Linked DNA regions of Homo sapiens: all the other regions are linked to region 1. The links are contacts of gene promoters, found by promoter capture Hi-C in human tissues and cell types (Jung and others, 2019). All regions are on one chromosome and are shown on one strand. The core of a region is centred on a gene start or on the middle of the fragment in contact, and the rest is flanking DNA. Distances in the headings are between cores, read along the strand shown.

What was found. Contacts are between HindIII fragments. The study calls those that stand out against the background at their distance.
Region 2: a fragment that was not itself captured here is called in contact with the fragment with the promoter of FGD2 in region 1 in 1 of the 25 tissues and cell types used here (heart right ventricle).
Region 3: a fragment that was not itself captured here is called in contact with the fragment with the promoter of FGD2 in region 1 in 1 of the 25 tissues and cell types used here (aorta).

What each region holds. Positions count from the first base shown.
Region 1 is chr6:37,004,405-37,007,944 of GRCh38, forward strand. FGD2 (FYVE, RhoGEF and PH domain containing 2) reads left to right here and starts at 1,251. Exons shown (of 16, transcript NM_173558.4): 1 at 1,251-1,481. The coding sequence starts at 1,414. RefSeq lists a silencer at 849-1,011 and enhancers at 1,267-1,396, 3,217-3,386. The HindIII fragment of the contact is 13,068 bases long and covers 1-1,361 here.
Region 2 is chr6:36,391,742-36,395,281 of GRCh38, forward strand. PXT1 (peroxisomal testis enriched protein 1) reads right to left here. Exons shown (of 5, transcript NM_152990.4): 5 at 1-133. The coding sequence ends at 29. It overlaps ETV7-AS1 (ETV7 and PTX1 antisense RNA 1), which reads left to right. Exons shown (of 2, transcript XR_926758.3): 2 at 35-82. Among named protein-coding and RNA genes, the nearest start is that of ETV7, 5.8 kb to the left of the region's middle. The HindIII fragment of the contact is 4,481 bases long and covers 1-3,540 here.
Region 3 is chr6:37,561,334-37,564,873 of GRCh38, forward strand. No RefSeq gene overlaps it. Among named protein-coding and RNA genes, the nearest start is that of MIR4462, 7.7 kb to the left of the region's middle. RefSeq lists enhancers at 341-510, 831-1,040, 1,181-1,360. The HindIII fragment of the contact is 3,278 bases long and covers 368-3,540 here.

The DNA.
Region 1 (3,540 bases), core at 1-2,500:
GGGCCGGGAGACCAGGTGGTAAAGGAGGCCTCAGGCAAAGACAACCCAGTGTCCTGGGATCAGGGAGGCCTGGGGATGGAGCAGCAAGAACATGGTCATCCAGGCTCCCAACGAACCTTTGCTGGAACTGTAGGACACCCACTTTTGCTTTGGAAATCCAACTTCTCTTGTATTCTTCCTGGGTGACCTTGGGCAAGTTACTTAACCTCTCTGATTCTGTTTCTTCCTATGTAAAGTGGGGATAGGAATAGTACCTACCTCATGAGGTTGTTATAGGATTAATAAGAAAATACTCATAAGCATGAAAAAGAGTGCATGTTAGCTATTATTATCCTCTGAGTTTCAGGGAGGAAACTGCCCTCCCTTGGGGCAATGAGGTGATGACAGCAACAACTAAAATGAGAGAACCCCAGTGGGGAGGTGGGAACATCACAGTACTCCCTGCCACCCTTACCAGGTTTGTGATTATTTTAAATAAAACATGCTGTTTCCTGGCCAGGCACAGTGGCTCACATCTGTAATCCCAGAATTTTGGGAGGCCGAGGCAGGAGGATCACCTGAGGCCAGGAGTTCAAGACCAGCCTGAGCAACATGGTGAAACCCCATCTCTACTAAAAATACAAATAATTAGCAGGGCGTGGTGGCAGGCCCTGTAATCCCGGCTACTCAGGAGGCTGAGGCAGGAGAATCGCTTGAACCGGGAGGCAGAGGGTGCAGTGAGCCGAGATCCCACCACCGCACTCTGTCTCTAAAGAATAAAAAAGACATTATTTCCTTACAGCTGTGAGCAGGGGCAGATGCAGAAAAGAAGGTGCTGGGAAAGAGGCCAAGTAAAAGCCACTGGACCTTCTGAAGGAGAAAGTGTGGTTGGCTGGAACCACTAGGCCAAGAAACCAGCCAAGGGTCTGGCTCCGGGTGGCCTTTTTTTTTTTTTTTTTTTTTAAGAGACGGTGTCTCACTATGTTGCCCAGGTTGGTCTTGAACTCCTGGGCTCAAGCAATCCTCCTGCTTCGGCCTCCCAAAGCACTGGAATTAGAGGTGCAAACCACTGCACCAGCCCAGACTGGGCTCCAGAAGCTACCTCTGGGCCCTGTTGCCACCTCTTAGGTGGCTTCTGGAATGGGGGTCTACAGGTGTGAAAGGTCAGCCCCCCTGAGGGAGAGGTGGGGCCCGAGCAGGCTCCTCCCACTGCGGGAGTGCTGGCCTTTCCCCTGCAGGGCTGTGGCTCTGGGACCACTTCCTCTTTCTTCACTCTGAAGCCAAGAGCCGACCTTCTGAGCCCTCAAGAAAGATCAGAACAGATTCATGGGTGATTTAGCCTATCTGTCCCAGGCCAGCGTGGCTGAGTGTGCTGGCTGGAGGCCTCTCTCTCTGCTTCGAGGGTAGCTGAGATCCACCCCGGAAACCGGCAGGATGAAGGGGGCAAGTGAGGAGAAGCTGGCATCTGTGTCCAACCTGGTCACTGTGTTTGAGAATAGCAGGTATGGGCAGCTGGGGTGGGAGGGTCACCATGGTGGGCTGGCAGCCACCCTCCAGCCTTTCTGGCAGCTCTCTCCCTGGGCCCTGCCCCGGACCCTCCTCCTGCAGGGGCAGCCCCGCGTTCCTCGGTCACGGATTCCTTGGAGCATGGGAGAGTGTCGGTGGGACACCAGGAGCCAGGCAGGGGTGAGAGTGCCAGTGTGTGTTGGGAGAGTCCAGACAGGTGTGGTTACGAGCAAGCATGGGCAGACCAAAGCCTGTGTGTGGGCACAGGACCCCACCCAGTGCCTGCCAGCACCTCTCAGAAAAGGTAGCTGATACTCACCAAGAATTTACGCCCTATGATTAGGATAACCATATAATTTATCATTCAGCACACAATTGAAACTGAAAGTAAATGCCAAATAAAATGTGGTGGTTGTGGGGGAGGCATTACAGGTAAAGCTGGGACCGTATGAGGCAAACCAGGATGTACGGGCAGCATCCTGATGGGGTACTCCCTACTCTAAGTTCATGTCCTTACTTATTTAATTTAGTCATCGAACAGCCTAATAGGGGTAGATTCTGTTTCTGTTCCCGTCTTATAGATGAGGAAATGGAGACACAGAGAGGTGAGGATGCCAAGTGCTTTAAGTATCTGGGGCAATGCTGGGGCGTCTGTCTGGAGGGAAAAGGCTGGGCCAGATGCGTGGAGTCATTGGTAGCCCTGGGAGCATGTGTGTTTGTGTGTGTGCGCGTGTGTGTATGTGTGTGTTGTGTGTTATGTGTGGCATCAATCCATTCTGCAGGCATTTCTTAAGCTCAGGACTGTGTTAGGGGCTGTCCCAGGTAGGGTTTTCTGGAAATAGACTCAGACAGAGGTTTGCCTCAGGTGATTTATCAGGGAGAGCTTTTGGGAACAACAGCTGTGGGTGTGAGGGAAGCAGGGCCGGGCAGGGGGAGATGCTGAACTGCAGTGCACCTGCCACAGAGGCCTCAGCCTGTCCCAGGGAGCTCTGGAGCTGGGATGCCTCTCGGTTGTTCCAGCTGAGGAAGAGGGCTGGGTATTTGTATCTCCATGTGGACTGGACAAGAGACTCTGGGTGAGGCAGCTCTCTCTTCCAGAGAGTGATTCCCAGAGAGGGACTCAGCCAATAAATTACCCGGCAGCCCCCAGTACTACCAGTAGCTGGTGGGGATGGTGTGGGGAGGCCTCATTCCTGAAGGAGGGACATGGGTGGCACAGCACAGCATCCTACAGGAACTGTAGAGGATGAAGAAGGGTTTCAGTATTTGGATGCTGAGCTCATCGAATAACTATGATGCAAGGTCATAGACAGTAGATGTCCTAGGAATGGCCCGGATGCTGTATTGAGGGCACTCATGGCAGGCAATGTTTCCTGTAGGCTTCAGGGTGGAGATGGCATAGATGTAGACCTAGAAGTCTTCAACTTCCTGAGCTGGGTGATTCTCCCCTGCCTCTCCCGGGATCTTTGCCAAGCTCGTCCTGTTCAGCACCAAAGACAGCTCTTGGGTGCCGCCTTCCTGGCCCACCACCCCCTTGGGTGTGGGTGGATGGTACCACCTCACTCAACATGCTTGACGTGGACTAGGCACACCTGGGTGGAGCCCCTCAGCATGCTGTGCTCTGCCCAGGCAATAACCCTGGCAGGAGTGGGCAGCCCTTAGACGGGAGTTAGGTCCCAGCAGGCATCAAGAGGGTGAGAGCCACTCCTTACTGAGTGAGGGGACCCATACCAACTGCCTTGGCCTGGGCTTCCTTATGAGGTCTCCAGCACCTCAGCTGATCTGAAACTGAGGGGCAAAGAGGAAACAGAAGCTGGCCAGGGGCCCTAGAACAGAAATGCAGAACCTGAAACCAAATGTAGAACAGAAAGCCTGAGAACCAGCTACGCCCATGAGCTGCAGACCCATGGGCTGAGAAACCAGGGACTGGGGTGCCAGGGAGGGGTGGGAGAGCCTGGGAGTAGCCACACAGCACTAGGTCCCAATGCTTTCGCTGCCACAAACCCAATTGTGTCACTTGGGGCAAGTCACTTTGACTCCGCGGACCTGTTTCTC
Region 2 (3,540 bases), core at 579-3,078, 610 kb before region 1:
ACTTGACCACTTGACCTTTACTTTCCTTTTACAGCAAATGGTTGTTCCAGAAAAAATGCAGCAACACCTGAACTCTTCTAAAGAAAAAGAAGACAAAATGATCTAGTGCATCTCTGCCATCCTGTTGAAGATCCTATTTGAAAAAAGGGAGACACAGAGAAAGGTTTTTTTTTTTTTTTAAAAGTGATAGAATAATCCAAAGTTAAAAATTCAACACAATGGAAAATATTAATTCAATCCATGCTGCAAACAAGCTTCTTGGGTTGCTTTATGAATTGTATGAGCTGAAGGACAGTACCTTCCATATGGTCATATCCTCACAACGCCTCTGGACATATTTTCCTATCTGACCGTCTTTCCCACCTGGCCTCAAACTCCTGGGCTCAAGTGATTCTCCCACCTCGGCCTCCCCAGTAGCTAGGACCACAGATGCATGCCACCATGTCTGGCTAATTTTTAAAAATATTTTGTGCAGACAGGGTCTCACTATGTTGCCTTGGCTGGTCTCAACAAACTGGGGCTCATCAGTAAATTGGGGCACTCTTTTCAGGGCTGATAACCTATTCCCCTGGATTCCCAAAACACTTTCTTAGTTCTTTCAAAGAGGTGAGCAAGTTTGCCTTGAGGCTAGAAGAATGGAGAGAAGACTGGGCATGGTGGCTCCTGCCTGTAGTCCCAGCACTTTGGGAGGCCAAGGCAGGTGAATGGCTTGAGTTCAGGAATTTGAGACCAGCCTAGGCAACATGGTGAAACCTCATCTCTAGAAAAACTGAGCCAGGCATGGTGGCACACACCTGTAGTCCCAGCTACTCAGGAGGCTGAGGTGGGAGGATCACCTGAGCCTGGGAAGTTGAGGCTGCAGTGAGCTGTGATTGTGCCACAGCACTCCAGCCTGGGCAACAGAGGGAGATCCTGTCTCAATAATAATAATAATAATTAATAATGTCTAGGACTTAGATGGGCAAAGAGGTGAGGTGAATATTAAGTATTTTGGAGCAGAAAGTAACAACTGTTTATGTCGGAACATCAGAAAAAGAAGACCATGGGTCAGACACAAATGCTCCCCCGCCTGCCCCCTGCAGTCTGTTCTCAGCACAGCCCCCTCTGTGGACTGTTGAAATGCGGCTTCTCTGCTCAGTGCCCTCCGATGGCACCACCTCACTTAGAAAAAAAGTCCTTGCAGTGACCTCAAGGCCCTACCTAATCTGCCCACCACCCACCCTTCTGACCATATCTTTTTTTTTTTTGAGACAGAATTTCGCTCTTGTTGACCAGGCTGGAGTGCAATGACACGATCTCGGCTCACCACAACCTCCACCTCCCAGGTTCAAGTGATTCTCCTGCCTCAGCCTCCCGAGTAGCCGGGATTACAGGCATGCACCACCAAGCCCGGCTAATTTTTTTTGTATTTTTAGTAGAGACAGGGTTTCTCCATGTTGGTCAGCCTAGTCTCGAACTCCCGACCTCAAGTGATCCGGCCTCCCAAAGTGCCGGGATTACAGGCGTGAGCCACTACGCCTGGCCCTGACCATATCTTTTATGACCTTCTCCCTCACTCAGCTTCAGCCACACTGGCCTCCTTGCCATTCTTCAAACACACGAGATGCACTCCTGCCCCAAGCGCTTTGCTGTCCTCCTGCCTCCAATCCTCTGCCTCCTCCCCAATATCCACAGCTCAGTCCCACACTTCTTTCAAGGTTTTCCTCAGAAGTCACCTTCTTGGTGGCTCATGCCTGTAAGCACTTTGGGAGGCCAAGGCTGGTGGATCACTTGAGCCCAGGAGTTTGAGACCAGCCTGACCAACATGGTGAAACACCCCCTCTACTAAAAATACAAAAATAGCCAGGTGTGGTGGTGCATGCCTGTAATCCCAGCTACTCGGGAGGCTGAGGCATGATAATTGCTTGCACCTGGGAGCAGAGGTTGCGGTGACAACTTTGTGCCATGGCATTCTAGCCTGGATGACAGAGTGAGACTATGCCTCAAAAAAAAAAAAAAGTCACCTTCTCAATGAGGCCTTCCCTTAACATCTCTACTTAAAATTGCAAACCCCAACACTCCTTATCCCTTTCCTTGCTTTATTTTTCTCCAAAGCATGTATCTCTATCTGATAAACTACATACTTTATTTGTGTAGATACTGTTTGTCTCCCTTAAAAACTCCGTGAGATCAGTAATATTGTCTCTTTGATCACTCCCATATCTCCGGTACTTAAACAGAGCCTGACATACAGCAGGTGCTCAATATAAGTTGAAGAAATGAATTCAGGAAGGAATGAAAAACCATTAGCAGTAGGCTAAGGAACTTAGACTTTGTCCTGCTAGTAACCGAAAATCATTAAAGGATTTTTCTCCCCCTCTTATAGTCGATATCAGCTAGGAAAACGGAATGAGTTTCCTTTCAGCATGGCAGACAAGAAAAAGTATAGAACACTGAGTCAGATGCTCATATATTTAAATTCTAGTTTTGCCACTTAGAAGCTAAGTGACCTTTGATAAGTTTTGTAATCTCTCTGAAACTCCATTGCTTCTCCTGAAATACCTATGACAGTAATTCATAGGGTTATTGGGGGAATTAAATGAAACATGTAGAAGTGTCTCAAACAGTACCTGGAAAAAATGTTTTAATAAATGTTTGTTTCCCTCCCTTCTTTCTAACAAACTGAGAAATTCCCTATGCATTATGATATCAGTCAGATTCCCAGAGGAAACAGATGGCACACCCAAATTAGGCTAATTCGAGGTGAGTTAAATAAAGAGACTCTAAAAGGTGTGGAGAAACCACAGAGGATGGTGTAGTACCTAGACCCGGTGACAACTCTGTTGGGGCATAGAGACAGGGGCGTAGGGACAGGGAGGGAGGAGTTTCCAGAACCCAGAAGGAGAGAAAAATTTCAAAGGCATATTTAAAATTCTAAAAGTGATGAGAAGCCTAACTATTTTAAAACATGCTTTATATCTAGAAAAAGCATATGTCCCGGGTTTAAAAAAAAAACTGAATTAAAAAAAAAAGCAGATACTTGAACCAAAACCCCACACAACTCAATGGCAAAATAGAAGATTTTTTTTTTCTTTTTCAGATTCAGGGTCTCCCTCTGTCACCCATGTTGAAGTGCAGTGACACAATCATAGCTCACTACGGCCTCGAATTCCTGGGCTCAAGCAATCCTCCCACTTCAGCCTCCCAAGTAGCTGGACTACAGGCACACACCACCACACCTGGCTAATTTTTTTAAAAATTGTTTTGTAGAGACAGGGATCTCAAACAAAAAAAAGAGAGAGAGAGAGACAGGGGTCTCACTATGTTGCCCAGGCTGGTCTCAAACTCCTGGCCTCAGCCTCCCAACGTGCTGGGATTACAGGTGTGAGCCACTGTGCCCGGCCTAAAAGATGTTATTTTGAGAAACACAGAACACTTTTGAAAAGACAGAGCACTTGCTTAAGTAAAAAGAACAAGAGAGCAAAAAATTTGGCAGCTCAACAACAATCCATTTAGCAGATAAAAATATAAATTGATGAGCTGCTTGATAGGCAGTTCCAA
Region 3 (3,540 bases), core at 757-3,256, 560 kb after region 1:
TGGGTTAGGTGTGTGGCCAGGGCCAGACCACTCAGACACCTTCCCCAGGATTTTGCTGCTGGAGCAAGCAGGGAAGTGGAGCGCACCTTCCCTTTGGGGTGATAGACACAGGAAGGGGTGAGATGTGCAGCTGTCCTTGCCATGGAGGGATGAGTGGCCAGGCCGAAAGAAGCAGAGCTGAGAGAAAGGAACAAGATGTTTTAGATCCAGTGCCACCTGGTCTCAATAATGACATGGGCCAGTGTGTTTGCTTGCTCTCCAAGGCTGTGGTGGACTTGTCTCTGGGAGGAGGGACAGAAGGGACTTGATCGGGAGGACAGAGGCCCATCCTCTGCTTCCTCCCGAAAAGGCTGCAGAACAGCCTAAAGCCAGGGGGTGGGTCTTTCAGGCCCAGAAAGGGGAGTGTCTCTCTGCCAAGGACCAGGGCAACAGTCCAAAACAGAGACACACAGCCCAGCCCAGGCCTGAGTGGTGGCTGGAGGGTATGGAGGTGTGAGAAGAGACCCCCATAGTCAGAGAGAAGATTCAGAAGCAGTTTCTGGAATGGACTGGGATCCCACCACTGGGGCCGTCCCAAATCTCCCTTAGCCAAAGTTTGGAGCCCAGCAGCCTGGGCTGCAATCTTGCTAAGTGATGTGAGCACCTTATTTAATCCCTGTGCCTCTGTCTCCTCTGTGATGATACTAGTGTAAATTTCACAGCATACTTCTGAGAATTAAATGAACGGATTCACATTAGTGCTCAGAACAGTGCCTAGTATATAGTGAGCAGCTGACATCGGCTATTATGATTTCCTAAACCAATGTGAATTGGGTTTTTGTTACTGGCAACTGAAATGGTCCTGGTTATTAATAATTCTCTCTTCCCAGGCTGATCAGCCAAGAAGCACCTGGTTTCACTACTTCTTTTTCTTCTGGTTCAGAAACAGAAGCAGAAATCCCCTTTAGATTTTCACCGAGTCTTTTGTCCTTCAATGGTAACTTTTACAGAGGGCGGTAAAACAACGCAATGGGAATTCCACTCAAGCAGAAACAACTGCAGAAAGCCTGGGTTGGGGCTTTCTGGGACTTCTATTAGGTGAGAATGTCCCAGGCCAGCTCTCCCCTACCCCTCCCAACCTGGGGTGGTTCTAGGAGGGTGCTGGGGGTCAGGCAGGCCTGGGTGGGAATCCTGGCACTTCTGACTGGCTGTGGGACCCCATGTAAACATACAATCTTATAGAGCCTCAGTTTTCTAATCTATAAAATGGGACTAATAATAATAATAGCTGCTCCATGAGATTTTTCATGACATTGAAGTTAATCTGTATAAAGCTTTCGTCACTGGCACATACTGAAGTTCTCCATAGATGCTGTGGTTGCTAAATCATCCTGGTAAGAGACTCCTCTAGTACGTGCTTTAGAAAGCAGCTCTTCTGGATAGGCGTGGTGGCTCACGCCTGTAATCCCAGCACTTTGGGAGTCCGAAGTAGGCAGATCACTTGAGCTCAGGAGTTCGAGACTAGCCTGGCCAACATGGTGAAACCCTGTCTCTACTAAAAATACAAAAAGTTTAGCCAGGTGTGGTGGCGTGTGCCTGTAGTCCCAGCTACTCTAGAGGCTGAGGCAGGAGAATCACTTGAACCCAGGAGGTGGAGGTTGCAGTGAGCTGAGATCCTGCCACTGCACTCCAGCCTGGGCGATAGAGCGAGACTCCTTCTCAAAAAAAAAAAAAGGGAGAAGAGCAGCTTTTCTAATTGCTACCTGGGCTGAATGTGAGCTTCAGTTCCTCAAACTGGCTAAGGGAGATTTGGGACGGCCCCAGTGGTGGGATCCCAGTCCATTCCAGAAACTGCTTCTGAATCTTCTCTCTGACTATGGGGGTCTTTTCTCACACCTCCATACCCTCCAGCCACCACTCAGGCCTGGGCTGGGCTGTGTGTCTCTGTTTTGGACCGTTGCCCTGGTCCTTGGCAGAGAGACACTCCCCTTTCTGGGCCTGAAAGACCCACCCCCTGGCTTTAGGCTGTTCTGCAGCCTTTTCGGGAGGAAGCAGAGGATGGGCCTCTGTCCTCCCAATCAAGTCCCTTCTGTCCCTCCTCCCAGAGAGCCCTCCACTGCCCCCACACCCCCACCCGCCTCCTCCTCAGCCGGCCTCCAACTCTCACCTCCCTTTCCTCCAGTGTGTCTGCATTCCTTTTCCTGTGTCAAAATCTACTCAAATACTTCCTATCCTAAAAAAGTTCTCCCTCGCCAGGCACAGTGGCTTGCACCTATAATCTCAGCTACTTGGGAGGCTGAGGCAGGAGGCTCGCTTGGGCCCAGGCGTTTGAGGCTACAGTGAGCTATGATTATGATTGTGCCACTGCACTCCAGCCTGGGCAACATAGTGAGATCCTGTCTCTAACAAAACAAACAAAACAAAAAACACTCTCCCTGGGTCCCAGGCATCCAAGTCTTCATATCCTCTCCTGTCTGTCCTATTCTGAGTTCTCAACAGCAAAGCTTCTGTGACCTCCAAGCCCTGAATATGCTCTTGATAAGCTGCCAATGACTAGGCAGGCTTCTCTGTCTTGGAATCCTCCTCCACCAGCACTGTGCTCCCAGGCCGACCTCTGTGACCAGCATGGCCCAGGCTCCCTGTGCCAGGGAGGGCCAACAAAGGGAGAGCCTCACAGAAGATCAGAGAGAGGAGAGTGAAGCCAAGATCTTTATTTTCCTGATGTGCTCCCTGCGGGACTTCAGGGGGCTGGCTCTTTGCTGTGTCTCTCCACACAAGGTTACAGCTCCCGTCCAGCAGGCCCTCCCCATGGCTCTGTCCATGTCCCTTTGGGCCCAGCTCCCCTGTTCCAAGCCCTGGGGCTTCAGCATCTCCTGCTGATGTCCCTGCACCCTGCCCACACCTTTGCACCTGGCCTAAACCTTCATTAAACTCTCTTTGAATCACTCAGTTTAAATATACCTTGAGTTTACTGCCAGACTGGAATTGTTAATAGAGGGTCCAGCACCAAATCCGTGGGAAACACCTGTGTTTTTCTCATTGGTGCTTTCTGCTGTATCTGATCGGCCTCCCTCCTTCAAGAGCCCCTCTATCCTGACCCCACCGCGACACAGTGCTCCACCAGCTTCCTTCTCTCTCTGACAGTTCCTTCTTCGTCTTTCTCTGACCTAGGCCCTTGCTCTATTCTCTCTCCTGGGCAGTCGCCTCTATAGCCCTTGGGATTTCCGCCACTGTGTACATTGCTAGTCCAGCCTTCACCTGTGGAGCTCAGGACAGAATATTCAATTACCTCCTGGAAGTCGATATGGACACCCTCAGGTACCTCAAACGCAGCGTGTTCCAAACTGGGCTTCTTCCCCTAAGCCTGCTCCTCCTCCCATGTAACCTTTCAGAGGGTGGCACTGCAGTTCACCCACACCCAGGCCAGGTACCCAGAAGTCGGCCTTGACTGTGATTTTGCTCACTCTGTCTTCATCCTTTTGGGTGCTGATGCTTGGATGTCCAGAATATTTATTGACTCTCCCTTTCCCCCAACCCAATCCTTACTACTCTGACATGGTT